Regions from separate parts of the Homo sapiens genome. Here region 1 is linked to region 2. The links are contacts of gene promoters, found by promoter capture Hi-C in blood cells and fetal thymus (Javierre and others, 2016). All regions are on one chromosome and are shown on one strand. Each heading gives the region's core, a stretch centred on a gene start or on the middle of the fragment in contact. The rest is flanking DNA. Distances are from core to core; before and after follow the strand shown.

The links. The method cuts DNA at HindIII sites, captures the fragments that hold promoters and counts their contacts. A CHiCAGO score of 5 or more calls a contact.
Region 1: a fragment that was not itself captured here is called in contact with the fragment with the promoter of H3C4 in region 2 in 1 of 17 cell types (fetal thymus); the score reaches 6.7 in fetal thymus.

What each region holds. Positions count from the first base shown.
Region 1 is chr6:36,594,042-36,600,205 of GRCh38, forward strand. It overlaps SRSF3 (serine and arginine rich splicing factor 3), which reads left to right and starts at 321. Exons shown (of 6, transcript NM_003017.5): 1 at 321-440; 2 at 2,720-2,927; 3 at 4,808-4,942. The coding sequence starts at 2,722. RefSeq lists enhancers at 97-778, 379-608, 2,624-3,124, 3,125-3,625, 5,407-5,908 and 1 more. The HindIII fragment of the contact is 3,118 bases long and covers 1,226-4,343 here.
Region 2 is chr6:26,193,068-26,198,863 of GRCh38, forward strand. H3C4 (H3 clustered histone 4) reads right to left here and starts at 4,219. Exons shown (of 1, transcript NM_001376937.1): 1 at 3,717-4,219. The coding sequence starts at 4,183. The coding sequence ends at 3,773. It overlaps H2AC7 (H2A clustered histone 7), which reads right to left. Exons shown (of 1, transcript NM_021065.3): 1 at 5,717-5,796. The coding sequence ends at 5,784. It also overlaps the pseudogene H1-12P. RefSeq lists enhancers at 3,346-3,947, 3,460-3,569, 3,948-4,548, 5,291-5,350, 5,381-5,440 and 4 more. The HindIII fragment of the contact is 2,796 bases long and covers 3,591-5,796 here.

The DNA.
Region 1 (6,164 bases), core at 1,535-4,034, about 10 Mb after region 2:
AGTGTTTGAGCGTGACGGCGACGGTGCTGTTTATGAAGCCCTAGCCTATTTGGAGGTGAGGAAGAGGAGTCTGTGGGTAACCTGGAGGTCGACAGACCGGGAGGAACGCTCGAGGGAGCACCAGGCCTGTTACAACGAGCGCGCGCCGACGCACGTCTCCACCCACCCGGCGCAACCGCCAGAGCGCGCTCCCAGCAACCGCGGCTCTCGCTGCGTTTGTAGCCATACGTCACGGCCTCTTCTGCTTCTCATTGGGGGAGCCCGTCCAATCATGTGATTCCAGTATGGCGTATAAATAAAGGCGAGGAGAAGGCGGTGGTCCGCCATTTCGTGGACGCCGGGTGAGTGAGAGAGTTGGTTGGTGTTGGGCCGGAGGAAAGCGGGAAGACTCATCGGAGCGTGTGGATTTGAGCCGCCGCATTTTTTAACCCTAGATCTCGGTAAGAGACCAGCGAAAGAGGGAATGAGGTGGAAATGGAATTTAACAGTACCAAGGAGCCAGGCCCAATGGCGGCGCCAGATTGAGACAAAGAGGCGCCGCCGCCATTTTGTGACGTTCAGCACGGGGCGGTGGCGGGGGCTCCCGGCCCATCGGAGGGTTTCCTAGTCTTGGAGTGGAAGTCTTTATATTCCTCATTGGGGCATGAGCCAGGATGGGGGTTACCTGGGAGTTGGGAACCACAAAGGGGAGCCGATAGCCGAGTTGTATTCCAGGTCACGGCCTTTTTATTTTTATGGCGCCTTTTTTTTTTTTGGCCCCTCATTTAATTGGGAAGCTTCTCAGAATGTTTTTGTAAAGTCACTAACCAAGACCGGACCTTTCAGTTCATATTAAATGGCCCCCGTAGTCACCTTACTTTCATGTAGTTTCAGATTTTGCAGCCTGAATCTAATCACCTTTTTCTAAGACCGAAAGATCTTCCTTGAACTTAAGATTCGTTCTTTCATCGCTTCCCATTAAAATGGAGGCTTAAGACAGGTGCCAGCAGTGTTTTTAAAAATTTTCACCAGTGGTTTGGTCTTAGAACTTACTCCTGGGCACAGGGTGTGGTCACGGCAAATAGGATGTGTCTGGACTGGATATTTTAATTAGACAAGCCCAGAGTAAGAAGAACGTGGTGTTTATGGAAAGCACTTCAGCTGAATTATTGAGTAGATGGTTTTTATGTAATTGAAACTGGTCTACAAGTTTATCAGATTCATCGTCGAAGTGACTCAGTAATAAAGCTTTATCAAATACAAGTCCGCCAAGGAAGAACAAAAAAATAAGTCCCCAAAGTGCAGTAAATTTTTTAGTAGCAAATATCTCTTTGTAATTTTTTATTAAAGTGAAATTATCTTTAAGTGGTATTTAGTATATTCAGTGTTGTGTAATCATCACTTACACGTAGTTCCAAAACATTTCCGTCACCTCCCCCCGCAGGAGACTACTACCCATTGAGCACTTACTCCCAGATTCCCTGTCCCCCTTCCTCTAGTCCCTAGCAACCACTAATCTTCCTGTCTCTCTGAACTTAGCTATTTTAGATATTTAGTATTTATGGAATCGTGTACTTTTATGTCTGGCTTCTTTAACTTAGCGTAATGTTTTCAAGATTTTCCAACGTTGGAGGATTTGTCAGTACATCATTCTGAATAATACTCATTTTATGTCTATACCACATTTTGCTTATCCGTTTCTGTTGATGGACATTTGGGTTAACATCTTTGGGCTACTGTGAATAAGTGCTACTATGAGTTTACATTTTTTAAAAAACTGTAAAGTTGGTCTCGTTGCTTGATAAATTTTTACCGCGTAAGACTCTGGTCTATCTAATGACATTTGATACTAGCCTTGTTCCTATAGTTCCAAATGACCAAAATAGGCATTTATTTATTTATTTATTTGTGGTTTTTTTTTGGCGATGGAATCTCGCTCTGTCGCCGAGGCTGGAGTGCAGTGGCGCGATCTCGGCTCACTGCCACCTCCGCCTCGCGGGTTCAAGCGATTGTTCTGCCTCAGCCTCCCGAGTAGCTGGGACTACAGGTGTGCGCCACCATGCCCGGCTAATTTTTGTATTTTTAGTTGTGACGGGGTTTCACCATATTGGCCAGGCTGGGTCGAACTCCTGACCTCGTGATTCGCCCGCCTCGGCTTCCCAAAAGTTCTGGGATTGCAGGTGTGAGCCGCCGCGCCCGGTCCATGGGCATTTTTTTAAAAGTGAAAATCGTTGGCCTTATTTTTATTAAAGCTGGTAAGTTTTGGCTTATGTAGGTACTTTGAATCGCTTGCCTGGTAGTATAACCTTAAGGACTAGCTTTCTTCATCATTGTTTTATTTAGTTTTGAGTCCCCAACAGAATTCTCTTCTGTTTTTCTAGAAATGCTTTATTTTGGGGATTAAATGAAATAACAGGTTAAGTCTCTTAACTCACGGCCCAGATGGTGGTAAATGCTCCTCCAGTTGTTCTCAACGTTCCAAGGAAGCTGTTTTTTTCTTCACTAATTGCTGGCTTCCTGAGGGTTAGGAGTAAAGATAATGGGGCGGGGTGGCGGGGGGGGGGAAATGGGTGCTTAGCAGTAACATTTCTTGTTTGGTTTCTAGCATTTTTGTAATTTTTTTTTCTTTACGTGCTACCTTAAACTCTCTTGTCCTCTCTAATGGAGTTCTTTCTAAGGATCTGTGGTTTTAACTGTAGATGTTTAGATGAATGAATATTTTTGGTATTTTTCATTACAGAAATGCATCGTGATTCCTGTCCATTGGACTGTAAGGTTTATGTAGGCAATCTTGGAAACAATGGCAACAAGACGGAATTGGAACGGGCTTTTGGCTACTATGGACCACTCCGAAGTGTGTGGGTTGCTAGAAACCCACCCGGCTTTGCTTTTGTTGAATTTGAAGATCCCCGAGATGCAGCTGATGCAGTCCGAGAGCTAGATGGAAGGTGATTTAATGATTACGCTGATAAAAATGTGTTGCTTGTGTTTTTCATATTTAAAATCTACAGGATATGTGGCTCTTAGATGGCTTTCCCAATCACTGGCCAATTGTATCTTTAGATACAATTGGGATCTTTTTTTTTTTTTTTTTTTTTGGTGGGGAGACGAGTCTTGCACTGTCACTGGGCTGGAGTGCAGTGGTACAGTCTCCCGCTCCCCGCAACCTCGGCCTCCGGGGTTCAAGTGATTCTCCTGCCTCAGCCTTCTGAGTAACTGGGACTACAGGCGTGTGCCATCATGCGGGGCTGATTTTTGTATTTCTAGCAGAGATGGGGTTTCACCATGTTGGCCAGGCTGGTCTCGAACTCCTGACCCCAGGTGATCTGACCGCCTTGACCTCCCAAAGTGCTGGAATTACAGGTGGGAGCCACTGTGCCCAGCCAGGATCAAATATTTTTAAGAGTAGTTGTGAACTGATCCTTGTTTAAAAAATTGTTTACAAAATGGTTACATGGGTTGGTTGTACCTTTACTTTTATGTGTTTGAAATACTCCAGAAAGTGAATCACTTACTATTTCCCTTTGTGTTAATAGTGTCCTGTTAGCTGGCTGAGTAAGGCCTGAGTATTGACCTCCATGCCCCCACCCCCCTTTCCTCATATTTGGAAGTATAATGGGAAAAAGGAGCTGAGTGTTCACTGTAAAGCTGCATGAAAGGTTGGTCAATTCAAGCAGGTTGTAGTAAAGTTTTCCAGGGCCCACCTCTTCCCAGTCACTCTTCAAATATGATAGCTTATCTAAATTTAATGACTGGTTGTATTAAGGGTGAGGAATAATGGTCTTTTTTTTTTTTTTTTACTACTGTGAGCTATAATTTCTTTTTTTAAAAAAATGTATATTTATTATTTAAAAAATAATACAGACGACAGTCTGTGTTGCCCAGGCTGGCCTCAAGCTCCTGGGCTCAAGCCATCCTCCTGCCTCAGCCTCTCTGAGTGCTGGGATTACAGGCATGAGCCACCTCACCTGGCCACAGCTATAATTTCTTCTGTGCTGACTGTTGAGGGGAGAGGGTGCTGTAAAATGGCCAAAATGGTTCTGTCTTGTCTTGAACTGATTTTTTACTTGGAGTGGGGCAGGGGGAGACCAATAAATACAGCCTGGTAAATAACTGAAATAAGTGCAGGGACTTCAAGGGAAGAAATCATAATGAAGATACAGGAGAACTTGTTTTTCAAGGATAAATGGATCTTCACACTTAAATTGCAACTGTTAACAAATTAACATTGAGCTCAGTAATCAGACTGGCTCTAACAATTAGGTGATAAAATAGAATTTGACTTCCTTGTGAATTGGTACTTTAGAAAATCCTATTTGTTTAATTTGAAATTAATTGAAATTTTAATTTGAAACTGGGAAACAAGCTTATTTTATTTTTCAAGACAGAGTCTTGCTCTGTCCCCCAGGCTGGAGTGCAATGGTGTGATCTTGGCTCGTTGTAACCTCTGCCTACTGGGTTCAAGTGATTCTCCTGCCTCAGCCGCCTGAGTAGCTGGGATTACAGGCATGTACCACCACACCTGGCTATTTTTTGTATTTTTAGTAGAGCGAGGGTTTCACCACGTTGGCCAAGATAGTGTCGAACTCTTGACCTTGTGATCCGCCTGCCTCGGCCTCATAAAGTGTTGGGATTACAGGCGTGTACCACCGTGCCTGGCCAAAGCTCATTTTATATTAGTAAAAATAAGGGAGCTAGAAATTTGATGTTAAATTGCACAGACACTTAGGTGTGTTCTTTGCAGAATAGCCAACTGAGAGTACTTTTGGCTTTAATACGCATGTCAGAAAGTCAGGCTGTTTTAAGTTTAATATCTTTGCCCCCTCAGAACACTATGTGGCTGCCGTGTAAGAGTGGAACTGTCGAATGGTGAAAAAAGAAGTAGAAATCGTGGCCCACCTCCCTCTTGGGGTCGTCGCCCTCGAGATGATTATCGTAGGAGGAGTCCTCCACCTCGTCGCAGGTACTTGAGAGAAAGCTTGTTAAGAGGTATTGGTGTAATGGAGTAGCTAGTAGGAGCAGGTATTTCTCTTAAGTTTGTTGGTGGGTTTTAAACTTTGGAAGAATCGGAGGTTTCTGTGAAACATTTGTTGGGTGTAATTTGGGGTATGTGAGTTGTGCTGAGTGTTGGCTTTTGTCTTTAGGTCACTGTTCATGTTGGTAGTCAGTAACTTCTATCTTGGATCTGTCTTCTAGTTCATCTTTCTAGTTGCATCTTTCCAAATCTTCCCTTATACTTCAGTTTAGGCCTTTTTCCATTTCTTGGCTCCATAATGACAAACATTACATTCAACTCTAGCTCTTCACAAATTTGTGTTTTCTACTATTAGCACAATTGTAATATTTATCAAACAGGCAGCTGTTTTAATGTTACAACTGGTAAAGTAGAAATCATTCTGAGACTAACTTAAGTCACTGACCAATAAAGGGGGCTAAAAAAGAAGTAATCCCAGTCATCTGTTCTTCAATCCCAAATAGGAGAAAATTCAGTTTTTTTATAATTGAAAATGGCATCATTCTTGGACCAGGCAGTATTGTCTGGGTGCTAACTCCACATCTCCTCAGACCTCCAAAATAGTTTCTATAGGACTAAATTTACCTCTTACAGGTGAGTGGAGTCCTTCTAGGAGACAGGAGTTCAAAATCTTGCCCCTTTTGCTATTTTGAAAAACAACAGCACACTGTTGCCCATCATAATAAAGAGTATTTGTTAGCTAATAGATGGTTGTACTGATGGCTTGTTTTTCATTTTTTTTGTGCTTTTTGGTCCATCTATTAATAAAAATGAACCCCGTTACAGAGTCACCATCATGTCTCTTCTCACCACCCTCTGAATCTGCATTAGCCAGTCAACTAGCCCTTTCAGCGTCATGTGACCAGCGCGCCCCATTCAGCTTGGCTGGTGTCGTTTCACATGACCCAGGCTGGCCAGTCGTCAGGTTGCACCGCCCTTTGGTTCCCGAGCATGCTGTTTTCTCTCAGCCTTCTCTCCAACCTTAACCAAATCGGCAGCAGCCACCTCGACCGCCCACACATTCCTGGCCAATCAGCTCAGCTGTTTATTTACCAAATGTCTTCACAACAACTACAGCAGCAGCCTTCGGCTAACAAAAAAGCAGGAAAAATCCACAACACCCCCTTCGCCAACCAACTAAATCCAACGCAACATCTGGCAAAACCTTTTC
Region 2 (5,796 bases), core at 2,969-5,468:
ATAAAAATTTCAAAGTATGTCATTAGATTAGTTTGAAGTTTAAAACAGGGTGGGGGAGAGAGAAAAAAAGAAGAAAAAAACTGAAAAAAGATACTCTGCAAGGTAATATAATTAGACCAAGATCACATAGCTGCTAAGGGGCAAAACAAGACTGAAATACATGTCATCATGTTTGCAAATTCCATGCTTCTACTAAACCACACTGCCAGATTGTTGATTTAAGGCCATATAAAAGAGTTTGATTGCCATACTAAGATTATTCTTAAATCTAAAGCTATATGAATCCAGCTTTTTCTTCACGGCTTATAAGAATAGAGAAAACCAGTTAAGTGAAGAAAACATAAAGCTACAAGGAGATGGGGCATATAAATTTGAAGCTCATATGAAGAATATTTCACCCAGAGCAATGAAGAGAATGAATGACAGCACAAAGGGATGAGAGAAAGGAGCCACCCATAAGAAGGCTATAAAAATAGCCAGTCCAAAGAAGAGATAGAAGAGCAAGAATTACAACCATGAAAAGGCAAATAAACAAGGAAAGATGAATTTAGGAAGAATTCACCAAACTTAGTAACAGATTGGATTTGGCAACAAAGGAAAGGGAATAATTGAAGTGTCAGTTAACAAAGCAATAGTGTTGTTGTGAACAGAATATATAGGAATGTCACTTGAAAGGTTGCTTCCTAGATGTGGTTGGATATGTTGAGGGTGTGATATACGTAAACAATGAAGCCAATATCCAGCAATCTTAGACAGAAGCTACTTAGATAAGGATGGTCATACTGAGAGTCTGGTATAGAAGATGAACAAGCAGATATCCAGCAACCATCCAGAAATCCAACTTTGATACTTAGGCAAGAGGACAGGCCTGAAGGGAGAGACTTTAGTTACCTGTAAGAAACTAACTCACAAACCCATGAAGGCAAATAGGACAGTACCTCAGAGAATTCCTGCAGTTGGAAGGCTACAAGTCAGTTCTTCCTTTGTTGGTGCTCCAGGAAATCAAATATAAGTATAAAATATAAATATAAAATGGGTCAAAGCCATTTTAAGATTAGAAATACATGGGCTCCATAAAAAGTGAATACACACTCAAAGTAAATGTGATTCATATTTAGCTCATGTCTCATCTCAAACATTTGATTTTAATTTTTATTAACATTTATTAATTTGTTCATGTCCTAGTTTAATTTGCTACATGAAGTCATTTGTATTTTGATGAGATCAAAAAGTGTGAAACCCTCACCTTTTGGGCTTTACTCTGTCTGTTCCCAGCATTTATCTCCTTCATAGTCTTAGTAAAACAGAAATGTATATGCTCCCCAGATCAGCATACGTTCAAGACATTGAGGAGTGAAGAAAATCAGTTAATTCACTTTCTGCCATCACTCCATTTTCTTCTCATATCGAACATAAGCTGTACTTCATCACTATAAGCCTATATCCTTGTTTAAACAAGAAATGTAGTACTGAATATGAAACATGGCTGTTTTTTAAATTTCTCTCTCTAGGGAATTTTGTGTGTGTGTGGTGCTTGTGTGTATATTCTTTGATCCTGGTACTTGAATAGTTTACCAAAGTCTATTTTCCCCGTGTCACCAAGCATGACAGACCCCTGAACCCAAAGACTCATGAATATTTTAATAACAAATTTCCCCCAGTAAAAATTTAAAAAAAAAATTTTTTTTTGACCCTTAAATGAGTCAAACTCTGTCTCTTTTATGTCCTTTCGTGGATCTCTCCTGAGTTCAGCTATGCAAACAGTCCCAATATCAGGAGAATCAGTGATCATTGTATTTCCCATTTTCCCAAGGAAACGTTGAACATTTACTGGAACCCTCCCAAAGTAACTAAACGTCCAAATAGTTACAAGAAGCTATCATGAAATATTTTCAGCCCCAGCTAATTTTATCAGAAAGGGCTGTTGTTCTAAGTATCCGTACTGCTGTTCTTGTGGAGAAATTCAAAAAGAACCTGTTGTTTCTCTTCTCATATAAAACAGATTTCCTCGTTAAATCTCAATGAAAATCAAGTAGTTGTTCAATGTATGAGAAGCCAAAAATGTGTAGGCTATTATTAGAAGACAGCAAACAATTGAAGACACGAATGGAAGAATTTATATTTTAAATGAAAATCAAGAAGTTGTCCCTCTGAACTGTGAATCTCTGAAAGTTGGAACTTTTGATAAAGGCCGAGGCTGCCTTAAGTAAAAACTAGAGAAAGAAAATGTAAAGATCATAACACCGTAGCCGTTCCAGTTCATTGTAGAATAGAATTGGTGTGATTCCTCCTCAGGAAATTTAAACTATTTTGATTTTCTGAATTTCCGCAAACACAACTCAGAAACAGGGTTGAGACTAGGTTGCTGCCAAGCTGAAAGACTGAGCTGGGAACCAATCAGCGCGCAGCGTGTCTGTGTGTGACACACACGTAATCACAGACACACTCGCAGCCTGACTTTTTTTTTTTTTAACTGTTAGATATCCAAACCTACAATCATGTCCGAAACTGTACATGCCGTGACTCCTGGTCTATCTCCCAAGTCAAAGACTGAAGTAAAGAAAAAGGTTGCAAGTCCGAAGTTGCAGTGAAGTGCAAGATGTCCAGGCCCCTCCGGTATGTGAGTTCATCACTAATGACTTAGCCGTCTCCAAGAAGCGCAGCGGCCTTCTCTGTGGCCGCGCTCAAGTAGGTGTTGGCGGCTACGATATGAAGATCGGCCCTTGCCGGTCGCGGTGGCCTACGTTTGTAATCTCAGCATTTTGTGAGGCCAAGGCGGGAGAATCTCTTAAGCTAAGGAGTTGTTTTTGGTGGTTTTGTTTGTCCTTGGGGATTTTTTTTTTTTTTTTGAAGGAGTCTAGCTCTGCTGCCCAGGCTGGAGTGCAGTGGTGTGATCTCGGTTCACTGCAACTTCCGCCTCCCGGGTTCAAGCCCTTCTCCTGCCTCAGCTTTCCATGTAGCTGGGACTGCAGGCGTGTGCCACCACACCCGGCTAATTTTTGTATTCTCAGTAGAGACGAAGTTTCAATGTGTTGGGCAGGCTGGTCTCGAACTCTTGGCATCACGTGATCCGCCCGCCTTGGCATCCTAAAGTGCTGTGATTACAGGCCTGAGCCACCTCGCCTGGCCAAGCTAAGGAGTTTTGAGGCCAGCCTGGGTAACACAGTGAGACCTCGTCCCTAAAAATAAATACAAATTTTTAAAAATTATTTGAATAAAGTTGGGCCTTGAAAACAAACGAGGGCATCTTCGTGCTAAGGAGTGCAGCGCCTCAGGTTCATTCCCGCCAAACCAGGCAGTGTTAGGAAAATCAAGACCGAGGCCAGAAAAGCCGCTGCAGTCATGCCCAAGACAGCTGTCCTGGCAGCCGAGAGGCCCAAGAAAGCTTGGGGCGTCCTTATTCCGAAAAAGAGTACTAAGCGGACCCCAAAAGCTTTTGCTGGTGGAGGCTGCTGGAGAAGGTTGGTTGGTCAAAGGTGGCCAAGAAAGTTCCCAAGCCGGAGGCATCCAAGCCTAAGAAAGCGGCCCCCAAAACAAGGAGATATAAGAGTACCTTAAAGGCTGTTTTAAGAACTCCCCAATTATAATAAAGCTTTTTGCACCAATTCCGTGAGGGGAGGGGGAACGGATAGAGGCAAGAATGCTTACTTACCTTGAGTGAACAGAGGTTCCAGTTTACGGACAGCAACAGTAAACAGCAACTTTTATAGAAAAGGTGGTTGGCTCTGAAAAGAGCCTTTGGGTTTTGGTTAGCACACATTCACAAGACAATTTACGCCCTCTCCCCACGAATGCGGCGAGCAAGCTGGATGTCCTTGGGCATGATAGTCACTCGCTTGGCGTGAATGGCGCATAGGTTGGTGTCCTCAAACAGCCCCACCAGGTAGGCCTCGCAGGCCTCCTGCAGCGCCATCACCGCCGAGCTCTGAAAACGCAGATCAGTCTTGAAGTCCTGCGCGATCTCACGGACTAGACGCTGGAATGGCAGTTTGCGAATCAGCAGCTCGGTCGACTTCTGGTAGCGGCGGATCTCGCGCAGAGCCACCGTGCCGGGCCGGTAACGGTGGGGCTTCTTCACGCCGCCGGTGGCTGGAGCGCTCTTTCGAGCAGCCTTGGTGGCCAGCTGCTTGCGTGGCGCTTTCCCACCCGTGGACTTGCGAGCAGTCTGCTTGGTACGAGCCATTGCGAACTTCTAAACCCTGCTAAATGACGAAAAAACGAAAGTCTAGCCTTTCGTACCCGTATATATAAAGACACCCCTGTTCTGATTGGACAAGGCAGCCTTTCCCCTGCAGCTCGATTGGTGGAGACGCCCACTCCCTGACAGAACATCTCCTGCATGTAGACCAAATATTAAAACTTTCCTCCGTCCATCTTTAACTGCTGGTGTTTTCAACCCTTTCCCCTCTGTGCCATGTTTCTAGCTTTTATTTAAAACGTACTTTGGTTTTCCTTGGCAAAATTGTGTCTAGCTACTAGGATGACGTGTCTTAATTTTTTTTTAAATGTTGGCGCTGAAACTGGCTTTGATCAACGTTTTAAAAAGACGCGCGCTAGTTGTGATTGGCCAAGTGATTTCTTTTTACCCTCTTAAGTTTAGAAAGGTTAATTTCATATCTTGATTTGTCTATTTAAACTTGGAGATATTTTCAATAATTTGTTCCAAATGCACCATGACTATTAACTCATAAGTAACAATATGAAACCTGATGTTAAGCTACATGAACACATTTAATTTCACCACAATATGTCATCCTCATATGAAAGCACTCTTATCTTTTACAAGTTCAACTGGTATTTGTGTAATCTGCTGTAAAAAAAAAAAAAAAAAAAAGCCAAATTTATAAATGGCACAAAAAGACCAGTGTGCCCTTTTAGTCATGCTGAACACTGTGCTAAGAAGCTCCACCTAAGGGCCGTCTGGCTCCAGGGGATGTAGGTTTGTATTCCTATTGATAATTAATTAGGGTTAGCTCAGTAGAGTTGAAAGTGGCTTGCAAAAACAAACCCAAAAAATACTTACAAATTACAGGTTATTTCGTATCATTAAGATGCATACAAAAGACAATAAAACATTTGTTCTGGTTCTGTTGCTTTAAGTCACTAACTATATTTTTATGTAAATGTAAACACTGACAAACATTAACTTCTCTCCTGTATGTCTCAGGCCTTTTAACAGCTTTGCAATCCTAACGAGCCGCTGCATTGATCGATTTAAATTACATGTGACATAAAGTCTCTTTGCATTTTAATTAGTTTGCTTTTTTGGGTTTTTGTTTGTTTTGAGACAGTCTCGCTCTGTCGCCGAAACTGGAGTGCAGTGGCGCGATCTCGACTCACTGCAACCTCCGCCTCCGGGGTTCAACATTTTCTCCTGCCTCAACCTCTTAAATAGCTGAAATTACAGGCGCGCGCCACCACGCCCGACAAATTTTTTTATTTTTAGTAAAGACGGGGCTTCACACCATGTTGGTCAGGCTGTCCTGGAACTCCTGACCCTGTGATCCGCCCACCTTGGCCTTCCAAAGTCCTGGGATTACAGGCGTAAGGAACCGCGCCCCGCCAATTTGCTTATGTATTTTTATGGCATCTTTAAAATGGACGGTTAGTTTCACGATTCAGTGTTAAGAACACCCACTTATAAATGGAAAAATTATTAAAGAAAACTGCAAAATAGCTATTTACACAGAAAATGTGAGCCCTTTTAAGGAATACATGGGTGGCTCTGAAAAGAGCCTTTGTTAAGACTGCTTCCTTAAAAAGCCAATATAAGAGTTCTCGTTTTACTTGCCCTTG